Regions from separate parts of the Homo sapiens genome. Here region 2 is linked to region 1. Evidence: promoter capture Hi-C in 16 types of primary human blood cells and fetal thymus (Javierre and others, 2016). All regions are on one chromosome and are shown on one strand. Each heading gives the region's core, a stretch centred on a gene start or on the middle of the fragment in contact. The rest is flanking DNA. Distances are from core to core; before and after follow the strand shown.

Region 1 (6,297 bases), core at 1,552-4,051:
TAGTCCCCGCTACTCGGGAGGCTGAGGCAGGAGAATGGCGTGAACCCGGGAGGTGGAGCTTGCAGTGAGCCAAGATCGCGCCACTGCACTCCAGCCTGGGCGACAGACCGAGACTCTGTCTCAAAAGAAAAGAAAAGAAAAGAAAAGAAAAAGCACATTAGGTCATTTTGGTTTTTTTCTTTCCTCTTAACTGTGTAGCAGGTTCAGGCCACAAAACAAGCTATGCTGCCACTTCTGATTATATGATCCTACAATGTTGCTGGATGTATCTGTGTGAAGGTGGATAACAATTCTGTAGGGAGGGAGAAAAAAGATTCTGTAGAAAGTTTCTGAAAGCCCACATAGGAGAATTACGGTTAGGATTCTTAGGATTCTGCAGTAAGGCTATGCTTACTGTGGTCCCTTTGGGAAAAGAGGCCCTGATGTGTCACTGGGCCCCAGTAGTGACTACACATCTCACCACTGGGTGCCAGGTAGCTATATATCTTAAGTTGGGTATTATCAGAAAGGTAGAGCAGCAGTTCCATATGTGATGGAAGCTGGGCGCATTGGCTCATGCCTGTAATCCCAGCACTTTAAGACCTCGAGGCAGAAGGATCACTTGGAGCCAGGAGTTGGAGACTAGCATGGGCAATGTAGTGAGACCTCCATCTCTAAAAGAAATATAAAAATTAGCTGGGTGTGGTGGCACATGCCTATAGTCCCAGATACTTGGGAGGGTGAGTTGGGAGGATTTCTTGAGCCTAGGAAGTCAAGGCTGCGGTAAGCTATGATTGTACCACTGCACTCCAGCCCCGGCAACAGAGTGAGACCCTGTCTCTAACAAACCAACCAACCAACCGACAAAACAACAAAGAGGCCAGGCACAGCAGCTCACACCTGTAATCTCAGCACTTTGGGAGGTAGAGGTGGGTGGATCACCTGAGGTCAGGAGTTCAAGACCAGCCTGGCCAACATGGCAAAACCCCATCTCTACTAAAAATACAAAAAACATTAGCCGGGCATGGTGGCGCGCACCTGTAATCCCAGCTACTTGGGAGGCTGAGGCAGGAGAATCGCTTGAACCCAGGAGGCAGAGGTTGCAGTAAACCAAGATCACACCACTGCACTCCAGCCTGGGGAACAGTGCAAGACTGTCTCAAAAACAAAAACAAAAACAACAAAAAACAAAGAACAAAACAAAACAAAAAATATATGATGGAAATGGTATATTCAAGGCTGAGCAAAGGGGTCTAAAAGGCTTGAGTAAATTAAATAAACAGGGAGCTCAGAGTCCTGTGGCGCCCAACTCTGTTTCTCTGGGTTTTCTCTTTGACCCATATATATGGCCTCATGGAGTGTTCCCAGCAACCAACAGATAATGGAGGAAAGGAGTCAAACTCAATTCACAGATAAGTCAGTATAATATTTTGGTATCAGCTGGAAACGGACCACTCTATTACAGCCCCATTTGGGGGTGGCACTGAATAATAGTGAATCCTCCCAGGGGGCAGAACTAGGAGCAGTATACCGTGTTGTTCCCTCTGTATGCAGAGAGAGAGAGAGAGAGATGGACTGAAGTACAGACATACACCAATTCCTAATAAGAGGCAAATGGCTTGGCTGGTTGGTCAAAGGCATGGATGGAACAAGATTGGAAGATTGGGAATAAGCAGGTGTGGGTTAGGGGCATAAGAATGAACTCTGAATGGGCATAAAGCACCTGGATCTCTATGTCTCATGTTAATGCTGACCAGAGATCATCTGCTGCAGAGGAGGCTCTACAGCCCAATGGCCAGGATGTCCCATCCTGTGGATGTCAGCCAGCCTCTAAACTTAGCCTCACTATTGCCTTGCAATAGACCTATGAGTGTCCAAGGTGGTAAGGATGGGGGTTAGAAATGAGTCCAACAACTTGGGCTCCCTCTCACCAAAACTGATCTGGCAATTGCCAAAATATAGCCAATCTGCCAGCAGCAGGTAGCAATATGGCAAAATTTCTCAATGAGAATAGCCAGCCATCTGGTGGCAGGTCAATTATTTCAGACCCCTTCCACTTGGGAGAAGGCAATGATTCATCCTTACTGGAATTTCTATGTTCTCCAAATAGAGGTTGCATTTCTGACCCATAGCACTTCAAGCATCACCATCCAAAGGCTTTAAAGAATGCTCAGTTCATTACCTAGGGCCAGGGGACCCATCTTGAAACTCAAGATCTATCATGATGGCCACATGAACACAGGCTTCACTGGTCTTACCATATGCCCATGACCCAGAAGCAGCCAGCCTGAGAGAACAATGGAACAAAGTGACTTAATTTCCAAAGTTCTGGGGGTTTATAAACAGCATATGGTATGTCACATGACTACTGTGGGATTGGAAAAAGATCATGTAAATAGAGCACTTTGCACAGACCCTGGCATGCAGCAAGTGCTCAATAAATGATAGGTGTTGTTTACTAATTGGACTGAATGGTGAAAGGCCTGTGTGCCCCAGGGGGAGCTGGTGATCAGGCTTCACTAAGCCCAGTATGGCCGTGGCTCTCATCATAGTGTGACATGCTTTGAATACCCTTAGCGGCTCCAAAAGTCCTCAGCTTGAAGTGCATTTTTCTGCCAGCAGGCAGCACACAAATGTTCCCGCTGGGCGGAGCTGGGAGAGAGGGGAAAATGAAACTCTGCAGAGTGCAGGAGCTGGGAGAGAGGGGAAAATGAAACTGCAGAGTGCAGAAATAGAAACTCCGACAGGGATTGGCTGCCTAGGGTGAGACGTGGGAGGATCCACAAGTGATGATAAAAAGCCAGCCTTCAGCCGGAGAACCGTTTACTCGCTGCTGTGCCCATCTATCAGCAGGCTCCGGGCTGAAGATTGCTTCTCTTCTCTCCTCCAAGGTAAACTCAGGAGCTATGAAGTGTGGGCATCAAGCTGCCACCCTCTGCCAGGCTGCCTGTCTGCCTGTAAATCTCATGTTCTGAGAGCCAGGAGGCCCCTTCTCCTGGGAGGCAGCACTCCTGGGTCCCTTTTAGTGCTCTGGGCTGGGACTTGTCTAAGAGGATGGGTTGGAGATTTTTAGGGAGATGGGATGCAAAACCCCAAGTGGCATGAGACCCAGCTTACAGGTGCAATATCAGCGATCTGTGGCCTTAACACTGTCACCTCTTGGAGCCTTAATTACTTCCTCTGTAAAAGGAAAGTTAAGTTGCCTTTGCTGCTCAAAGGACTGGATGATTTTAGAATCCCCTTTATTATAGGATCCAATGTGACAGTGAGTTCATCTTTAAGGATAGATGAAGCCATCTGGAGTGGTTGTTAAAAATGTGGGCTTGGTGGCCGGGCGTGGTGGTTCACGCCTGTAATCCCAGCACTTTGGGAGGCCGAGACCCACGGATCACGAGGTCAGGAGATCGAGACCATCCTGGCTAACACAGTGAAACCCTGTCTCTACTAAAAATACAAAAAAAATTAGCCGGGCTTGGTGGTGGGCGCCTGTAGTCTCAGCTACTCGGGAGGCTGAGGCAGGCAGGAGAATGGCATGAACCTGGGAGGTGGAGCTTGCAGTGAGATGAGATTGCGCCACTGCACTCCAGCCTGGGCGACAGAGAAAGACTCCATCTCAAAAAAAAAAAAAAAAAAATGTGGGCTTGGGTATTAGCCAATTGTGGGTTTAAACCCTGACTTTGCCATGACCTGGCTAGGCAGCCTTGGGAATATTACTTAACCTCTCTGAGCTTCAGTTTCCTTATCTATAACATGTGGTTGATAACAATGGTACCTACTTCGTGGTGTTGTTATAGGTACAAGTGGACTGCGTGCCATAAAGTGCTAAGTACTCAATACATGAGAGGAGTTTCTTGTTTTTCTTTTTAACTTAAGAAAATAGCATTGATCTGACAAAGATCATATTAGAGGTGAGTCTGAGGGCATATGCATTTTCCAGTTTTGTGGTATAAAGGAAAGAGCATAGGTTCATGAATTCTGACTGTCTTGAATGTGTACCCATGTTGCACAATTTGCTGTGTGACCTTTATCCCTTGTGATATTGTAAAATATATTTTTTCATCCCCCAGTTCCTGGCATACAACTCCTAAAATCCTTGGAATCTTCAAAGTGATAAATATCTTTTGAGTGATAACTGTCTAATAAGTTGACTGATGGCTGGCATTTCCTCTGGGGAGGGGAGAGGGGCTGAAGGTTAAGCTGATTACCAATGGGCAGTGATTTAATCAGTCATGCCTATGTAATGAAGCCTCCATAAAAACACAAAAGGACAGGGTTTGACAAGCTTCCAGATAGCCGAATACAAGGAGGTCTCCAGTGGGTGGTGCTTCTGGAGAGGAATGGAAACTCCATGCCCTTTCTCCCATACCTTGCCCTATGCATCTCTTCATCCGGAGCATTTGTAATATCCATAAGGAACCAGTAAATGTAGCTGGGTATGGTGGCTGATGCCTGTAATCTCAGCACTTTGGGAGGCTGAGGCAGGCAGATTGCGTGAGTTCAGGAGTTCAAGATCAGCCTGGGCAACATGGTGAAACCCCATCTCAAAAAAAAAAAAAAAAATTAGTTGGGCGTGGTGGTGCATACCTGTAGTCCCAGCTATGCTGGAGGCTGAGGTGGGAGGATCACTTGAGCCTGGGAGGCGAAGGTCTCAGTGAGCTGAGATGGGGCCACTGCACTCCAGCCTGAGCAATAGAGTGAGACCCTGTCTCAAAACAACAACAAGATCAATTTTTTTTTTTTAAAGAAAGAAACCAGTATATGTAAGTAAAGTGTTTCCCTGAGTTCTGTGAGCTGCTCTAGCAAATTAGTAAAACTGCAGGAGGGAATTGTGGGAACCCCAGTTTATAGTCAGTCAGAAACACAGGTAAAACAACCTAGGGCTTTCGATTGGCAGTCTGGGGGACTGAACCCTCAACATGTGGGATCGGCCACTATCTACCCATAGTGGTGTCAGAATTGAATTTGGGGACCCTCAGCTGGTGTTCACCAGAGGACTGATTGTTTGCTTGCTGGTGGGGAGAAACCCCCACACTTCTGCTGTCAGAAGCCTCTCGTACGGTGAGGGAAACTGAGTTTCTTTTTCCACACACCCTTCTGTGCTTTCTTTCTGAAAAAAAAATTAAGTTGATGTGAGGCCAACGTTTGGTGCCAGTAGATATTCAATGCATTGTAAGAATGAGTTTGTCTTAAAAATTTTTTTAAAGCAAATTCTATGCGTCAGGCACTGTTCAAAGTGCCGGGGATACAGCGTGGAACAGTTATTAAATTAACAAGTACCCTCTGAAATAGACTCTATTAATACCCCAATTTTAGAAATAAACAAACTGAAGCCCAGAGAAGCAAAGTACCCTAGTATCCTGCCCAAGGTCACTTGGGTACAAGGCCAGGAACAACCACAGTCATGATATTGACATCTGCGGAGCTTACCACGTGCCAAACACCGTGCGAATCCGCACAGAATCCGCACACCCACCGGTTGGGGCAGGGACATCTCTGCCACTGATGCGGAGAGGAAACGGATTCCCGAGGCTCCTGAGAGGGATCCTGGGTTCCATTCACCACACCTCGCTGCTTTTTACTGATTCAGTTGGAACTGGAAGGGAAAACAACGGAGCTGATGAGCTCCAAAAATGCTCCGGGGACCATCTCCCTCTCGCCCGTTCGCAGGTCTAGTGACGGAGCCCGCGCGCGGCGCCACCATGCGGCAGAAGGCGGTATCGCTTTTCTTGTGCTACCTGCTGCTCTTCACTTGCAGTGGGGTGGAGGCAGGTGAGAATGCGGGTAAGGATGCAGGTAAGGGGACAGGTAAGGGTGCAGGTAAGGATGCAAGTAAGGGTGCAGGTAAGGATGCGGGTAAGGATGCAGGTAAAGATGCGGGTAAGGATGCAGGTAAGGATGCGGGTAAGGATGCAGGTAAGGGTGCAGGTAAGGATGCGGGTAAGGATGCAGGTAAGGATGCGGGTAAGGATGCAGGTAAGGATGCAGGTAAGGGTGCGGGTAAGGATGCGGGTAAGGATGCAGGTAAGGATGTGGGTAAGGATGCAGGTAAGGGTGCAGGTAAGGGAACAGATAAGGGTGCAGGTAAGGGGACAAGTAAGGAGGCATATAAGGGTGCTGGGGGATGGGAGGAGTGTGGGATAAAGGAGAGAGTTTCAGGGTCCGGGGTGTAGAGGGTCTGGCGTGCTTCTGTAGAGACCCTGGCGTCCATTCCAATGGACAGCGCAGGGTTGGTGTCGCCAGAGTCCCAGATTCAAATCCCACTACTCTGTTCATTCCTCCATCCTACCGAAATTTACTCGATGCTAGTTCTGTGCCAGG
Region 2 (6,297 bases), core at 1,490-3,989, 360 kb after region 1:
GCCTCACTGACAAACTCTGTCATTCACAATAGACTTTCATTACTCTACTAAGTGGTATATGACTCTTTTTTTTTCTTTTATGAGATGGCATCTCGTTCTGTCACCCAGGCTGGAGGGCAGTGGCGCGATCTCGGCTCACTGCAACCTCCGCCTCCCGGGTTCAAGCAATTCTCCTGCCTCAGCTTCCCAAGTAGCTGAGACTACAGGCACATACCACCATGTCCAGCTATTTTTTTGTATTTTTAGTAGAGACGGGGTTTCACCATATTGGTCAGGCTGGTCTCAAACTCCAGACCTCAGGTGATCCACCCACCTTGGCCTCCCAAAGTGCTGGGATTACAGGTGTGAGCCACCATACCCGGCCGGTATATGACTTTTAATTTTAAACTGCACCATGGAACAATCCTGCCCCATTACCTTCAAATTAATAAGATTGTTATTCTCAGTCTTGACTCCTTCCTTGGGCTTTTCATCAGCCACACGAGTGCTGGAGTCTCCTCAGCTGCTACTTCACCAATGAGGCACCAGGTCTGCACAGAATGAATGAGCACACAAACGGCACCAGGAGAGGCAGAAGGAGGTGGAACAGTGGAACTATTCTGGGTCTGCTACATTTTCATGTAAACTTTAGGATCAGTTGGTGATACTCACAAAATAACTTGCTGGGACTATGACCAGGATCACATTGAAGCTATAGATCAAGTTGGAAAGAACTGACATCCTAATATTGAGTTTTCCTATCCGTGAACATGGACCATCTCTCCATTTACTTGATCTTCCTTGGTTTCTTTTATCAGTTTTGTAGTTTTGCTCATACAAACCTTGTACATATGTTGTTAGATTTATTCCTAAGTACTTTTTTGGGGGGATGCTAATGAGGGCTGAATACGTGGAGGACAAGGTGCTTTTAGAACAGTGAAACTATTCTGTATGACAATGTAATGGTGGATACGAGACATGCATTTGTCAAAACCCATAGAACTTTGCAACACAAAGAGTGAACCGTAATGTAAACTATGGACTTCAGTTATCATAATGTATCAATATTGGTTCATTAATTACAACAACACACTAATGCAAGATGTTAATAATTGGGAAAATTGAGCTGGGGAAAGAGGGTTATATGAAACTCATTATACTATCTGCTCAATTTTCTGTAAGCCTAAAACTGCTCTAGAAAGTAAAGGCTATTAATTTTTTAAAAAATGGAGTACCAACTCCAAATGAAATGGAGACCCTCGTGAAGTCTTCCAATGCCTCCCTTGCCTACAGGATTGAGTCTGTGGTCTCTCACCAGCCATAGGAAGTCCTTCAGTTTGACTGCTCCTCCAGTCTACCCTCTACAATCCAGCCAGATGGAGTCACTCAGGGTTCATGAAGGAACCTGAGACTCTGCACTACTCCCTGGTCTGGAACATTGTCCTTCCTTTGTCTGGTCTGGAAATGCCTTCAAGAAGCTTCTGCAGACGTTAATTTGGGTACACAGAGGAATGATACCAGCCCACAGTATCTGTTTTATAATACCACCTATTGTGTTTCCGGCAGGACCTCTCAGTAGTTTCAGTAGTGGAACTGCTATTCCCACAGACTAAACCATAGTTCCCCAACTGTGCATCAAGGTGCCTGAGGGCACCCACAGCAAATTCACAGGGGGCAAAGTAGGATATTTTGAAAGATATTCAACATCTTTGGCTAATGAGAGAACTATTAGCTCAAGGTAGTTCACAGTTCCATTATTACATTATGCCACAATCCTTTTGATGATGTCATCTTTAAGAAGCTGGGTCTTGGCCGGGCGCAGTGGCTCATGCCTGTAATCCCAGCACTTTGGGAGGCCGAGGCGGGTGGACCACAAGGTCAGGAGAGCGAGACCATCTTGGCTAACGTGGTGAAACCCCATCTCTACTAAAAACATAAAAAATAAGCCAGGTCTGGTGGCAGCTGCCTGTAGTCCCAGCTACTCAGGAGGCTGAGGCAGGAGAATGGCATGAACTCAGAAGGTGGAGCTTGCGGTGAGCCGAAATCGCACCACTGCACTCCAGCCTGGGCAACAGAGCAAGACTCCGCCTCAAAAAAAAAAAAAAAAAAAAAAAAGAAGCTGGGTCTTTAGTGGTTGCTGTGATAAAAAGCAAATGAAAATCAATGTGGGACAGGAAATGAAGGCAGCAGTGTTTGCTTTGATTAGAAAATTTAACAAGTTGTTCAGTGCCCAATGGGCAGCATAGATCCCATTAGTAATTGCAGTTGTTTAAGAATGAAGGCTGGGCGCGGTGGCTCACACCTGTAATCCCAGCACTTTGGGAGGTTGAGGCGGGCAGATCACCTGAGGTCAGGAGTTTGAGACCAGCCTGGCCAAGGTGGTGAAACCCCATCTCTGCTAAAAATACAAAAAATTAGCTGGGTGTGGTGGCGGGCACCTGTAATCCCAGCTACTTGGGAGGCTGAGGCAGGAGAATCGCTTGAACCCAGGAGGCGGAGGTTGCAGTGAGCCGCAATTGCACAATTGCACTCCAGCCTGGGCGACAAAAACGAAACTGTCTCAAAAAAAAAATAAAAAATAAAAAATAAATAAAAATGCAAAAAAAAAAAAATAGCTGGGCATGGTGGCACATGCCTGTAATCCCAGCTACTTGGGAGGCTGAGGTAGGAGAATCACTTGAACCCGGGAGGCGGTGGTTGCAGTGAGCTGAGATCATGCCACTGCACTCCAGCCTGGGCAACAGAGCAAGACTCCGTCTCAAAAAAAAAAAAAAAAAAAAAGAATGAAATAAATATTGTTTCTTCCAATTCAGGTGTATTATTTTTTAAATGGCAACTAACTTGTTAGGACATAAATACTTTTTAAGTGATTTGGACTTAACTACTTAATAAATTGAACTGTTATTTCTTTTGGCTTAGAGGCTCCATGAAAAAATTACTGAGATGGTAATGGTGCTGTGAGCTAAGAAAGTTCAGGAACCTATAGTCTAAGAGATTATCTAATCCAGGGCACTTCAAAAACTTGCATATGTGAAATCAATTTAGTGGGTTATAGCCATATTTTTTTCCCTAATAAAACAGAAGGGTAAGCAGAGTACACTGCATGTAGCAAGGGTAAATATTATTGTGTAAAACTTTTGTTCATTTTTTTTATATATATATACACACACACATATCTACAAGTAATCATGTGTATATTGGGTCACAATGTAAAATGGTTTGAAAAACCACTAAGATTCCAAGTCCCTTATTTTACTGATGAGAAAACAGCCAGAGAGTGAAAGCTGATGATTACAAATCACAGCCATGAGAGCTGGGCTCTGCACTCAGCCCTGCTGGGCTGGGTGGCCGCTGCTCACGGTGACCCTTCAAGGCAGGCCTCATTCTGTCCAGTAGAGGTGTGGTTACTAAGTCATAGAGCTACAGAGGTGAGGGACCAGGTGCCCTCACTTTGGTTCCAAGACCCATCTGCACCCCACAAATGCCACCAGCCACACCTAGAACAAAATGGTTTTAATCAATTGCGTCACCCTCACTCTCCTGGGAGCGGAGCAACAAAAAGGCTCGGCTCCTGCCCCCAGAGGACAGTAAGGCTTATGTGTCTCTCCACACTGCAGGGCCCAGGCTGGGCAGGCAGGGGGTGGGAAGCAGGACAGGGGGCAGGGAGGGAGGGTGGGAGGCAGGGAGGAAATGGCAGGTGGCTGGAACACAAGAAAGCAAAGGGGACCCAGCTGGTCCTTGGGCCCCAGGGCCCAGCCCCAATACTCCTGCTCTCCCTTCTCCCTGGCTAGAGAAAGGTCACGGAGAAGAGACAGGGGAGCAGGTCCCAGCAGCAGGAGAAGCAGCAGCAGCTGTTTCCTTCACCAATAAATATACTTCATTACCAAGCTAGAAGAGAGGGGTGGGAAGAGGGACTGGGGTGGGAAGGAAGGGGGAGAAGCTGCCACCTGTGTTGCTGGGATTAAAGCAATGAGATGGTGCCAGACCCCCCACCACTATCCTCACCCTCCACTTGTCTTCTTAAAACTGTGAAAAAGCTTTTAACATGGCCCTCCTGTCTCCAGGGCTGCTCTGAAGCCTGACTGAGAGGAGGCACCTGGCAGAGACAGGGGCTGAGGGAGGGAGCGAGGGAGTGGAGGGAGAGGAGAAGGGAGGCTGCTTTTCCCCAGGGGCTGCAGCTGGAGGGCTGGAGCCAAGTAAGCACTGAAGGGGAAGCAGGGAGGGAGAGAGGGGGAAGGATGAACCAACTACCTGGAGCAGCTGGAGCTAAGAGCCGGGGGCAGAGGGGAGGAGAGGCCTGGTGAGTGGTGGGTTGATCGCTGCATCCAGTGTAAAGCTTGGGGCTGCTGGGGAGGGAGGGGCCGAGTAAGGGACTTTCCCATCTGAGTGGCTCAGGAGACCCACCCCTCTCCCCTCAGAGCAGCAGGGGACAGAGAAAAGCCATCACTTCTTTGGTCTTTGTGGCGGCTCAGCATGTGGGATGGGAAGGAGGGCAGAAAGGGCAGAGAAGGGCCCTTAGCAGGAAGCGCCACCTCAGCAGAGTAGGCCTGGCTGGGAGCTCTGGCAGAAAGGTCACAGTGAGGCTGAGGAGCGCCCAAGAGGAGAATGGCCGTAGTGCAGAAGTGCTGGCATGGATGGGTGGGGTAAGGTGCAGTGCCCCACCCTCTGCCAGGGCCCTTGGGAAAGGCAGAGCCTCCAGAGGTGGCCAGTGAGAGTAGGTGCAGGGCCAGAGCTAGTAGCCAGGAGAGGAGCGAGGGTGCTCCACAGCGACCTCAGCAGGTGGCCTGGTCTTGCCCACTCCAGGGCTCCCATCCTTCCTTTGGGCTCCGCTCTAACACTGGTGGCTCTGGAGGGAGGGTGGGACCCATCCTTTTTCAAAACCTTTCCTGAAGACCACAGGGGAGCTAGCCTTGCAGGCTAGGGAGCAAGAGTGGCAACAGGCCAAGGCGAGCCCTTACCAATTGGGAATCCCACTCCTCCTGCTGCTGCCAGCTAAAGGGCAGGACAGTCCCTGAAGACAGTTCAGCTTGTTCCTCCCCACCTGAGGCAGAAGGGGTTTTGAGGCAGGCCAGAGCCCTCCAGGGACATGAAAGCAGGAGATGGGGGGGGGCATATGGAGGGGTGTCCCCTCCTGCTCTTTTTTTCAGGGCTGGGGATAGTCAGGGGACAATCAGCCCAGAGTCCGAAAGCCAGCAAGTTGTAGCAACCTCCACCCCTAACGCCAAACTAACAAACAAAACAGGGGAAATGAAAAAAAAGGGTGGTGGGGAAGACAAACCAAAACAGAATCCCCTGACCTCCTGCCCAGGGCAGAGGGTCCAGCCAGTAGCAGGGGCTGGGGACCAGGGCTGGAGGGTCTAGCTGGGCCGGCACTGCACCTGGCCCTCAGAGCTGTCCTCATCATCAGAGGCCCCGGCACCCCCACTGCTCAGGCCCGTGATCCGGTAGCCCATGTTGAGCAGCATCACCTCCAACGGGTCTGCATTCATGCGCCGCTGGTTGGCCTGTGAAGCACCCTCCATATCTTCCACGACTCGGCCTGTGAGGTCTTCACTCTGTGGTGGAGAAAGGGGTGACACACGTGGGGCTCAGGGAGGGAGAGGCACCAGGGTACACGTATAGGGGAGGGGGAGGGAAATACACAGACTAAACTATCTATAGGGGGAGGTACACATACATGCCAGGAGGTGTATATGGTGGAGGGGAACACACAACCTTGGCTACATATTGTTGGGGGTGCTCACGCTGGAATATATATGGGAGATACGCCACCTCAGGATATACAGGCAGGTCATAACATGCTGGGATATACGTGGGGGACAGTACACACCAGGATATGTTGGACACACATACTGGGATACCTGGGACAAGGGGCAGATACAACTTCCCCACCCCATTCTGTTTTGTTGCCACAACTCTTGCTTCATCTTTCTTTCTCCTCTCCTCTCAATGGGGAAGCCTATAGGGGTCCTCTCTTTAAAAGTCACAGCAAATTATCTTGGGAATCAGACATACCACTTGACTTTTGTTTTGCCAGCTGGGAAGAGGGAAGCAGTAGGGCAGAGGGGAAGGGGAGGCACCAAGCCAGCTTCCCTGGCTACCCACCCTGGGAGTGGAGGGGACTCCACTGTCCTAAGTGTCCTTGTGGGCTGGACACTTCACAGGCATCTCTTCTTTACTTCTCACCACAACCTTTCAAGGTGGTGCTGTCATTCCCATTCCCAATGTACAGATGATTAAAAGCCTGGGTCAGAGATGGTGAAGTCTCTCAGGCAGCGAGTGAGGAGACTGGATTCAAACTTAGGCCTACCAGATGCC

The links. Contacts are between HindIII fragments. The CHiCAGO score rates a contact against its expected background, and 5 or more counts as called.
Region 2: a fragment that was not itself captured here is called in contact with the fragment with the promoter of IFI6 in region 1 in 14 of 17 cell types (naive CD8 T cells, non-activated CD4 T cells, naive B cells and 11 more); the score reaches 10.7 in naive CD8 T cells.

Annotation. Positions count from the first base shown.
Region 1 is chr1:27,668,696-27,674,992 of GRCh38, reverse strand. It overlaps IFI6 (interferon alpha inducible protein 6), which reads left to right and starts at 2,801. Exons shown (of 5, transcript NM_002038.4): 1 at 2,801-2,870; 2 at 5,647-5,748. The coding sequence starts at 5,679. RefSeq lists enhancers at 2,430-2,769, 5,548-5,607. The HindIII fragment of the contact is 12,379 bases long and covers 1-4,263 here.
Region 2 is chr1:27,305,423-27,311,719 of GRCh38, reverse strand. It overlaps WDTC1 (WD and tetratricopeptide repeats 1), which reads right to left. Exons shown (of 16, transcript NM_001276252.2): 16 at 3,084-5,534. The coding sequence ends at 5,337. Among named protein-coding and RNA genes, the nearest start is that of TMEM222, 14 kb to the left of the region's middle. RefSeq lists enhancers at 2,888-3,412, 3,413-3,938, 3,939-4,464. The HindIII fragment of the contact is 2,559 bases long and covers 1,460-4,018 here.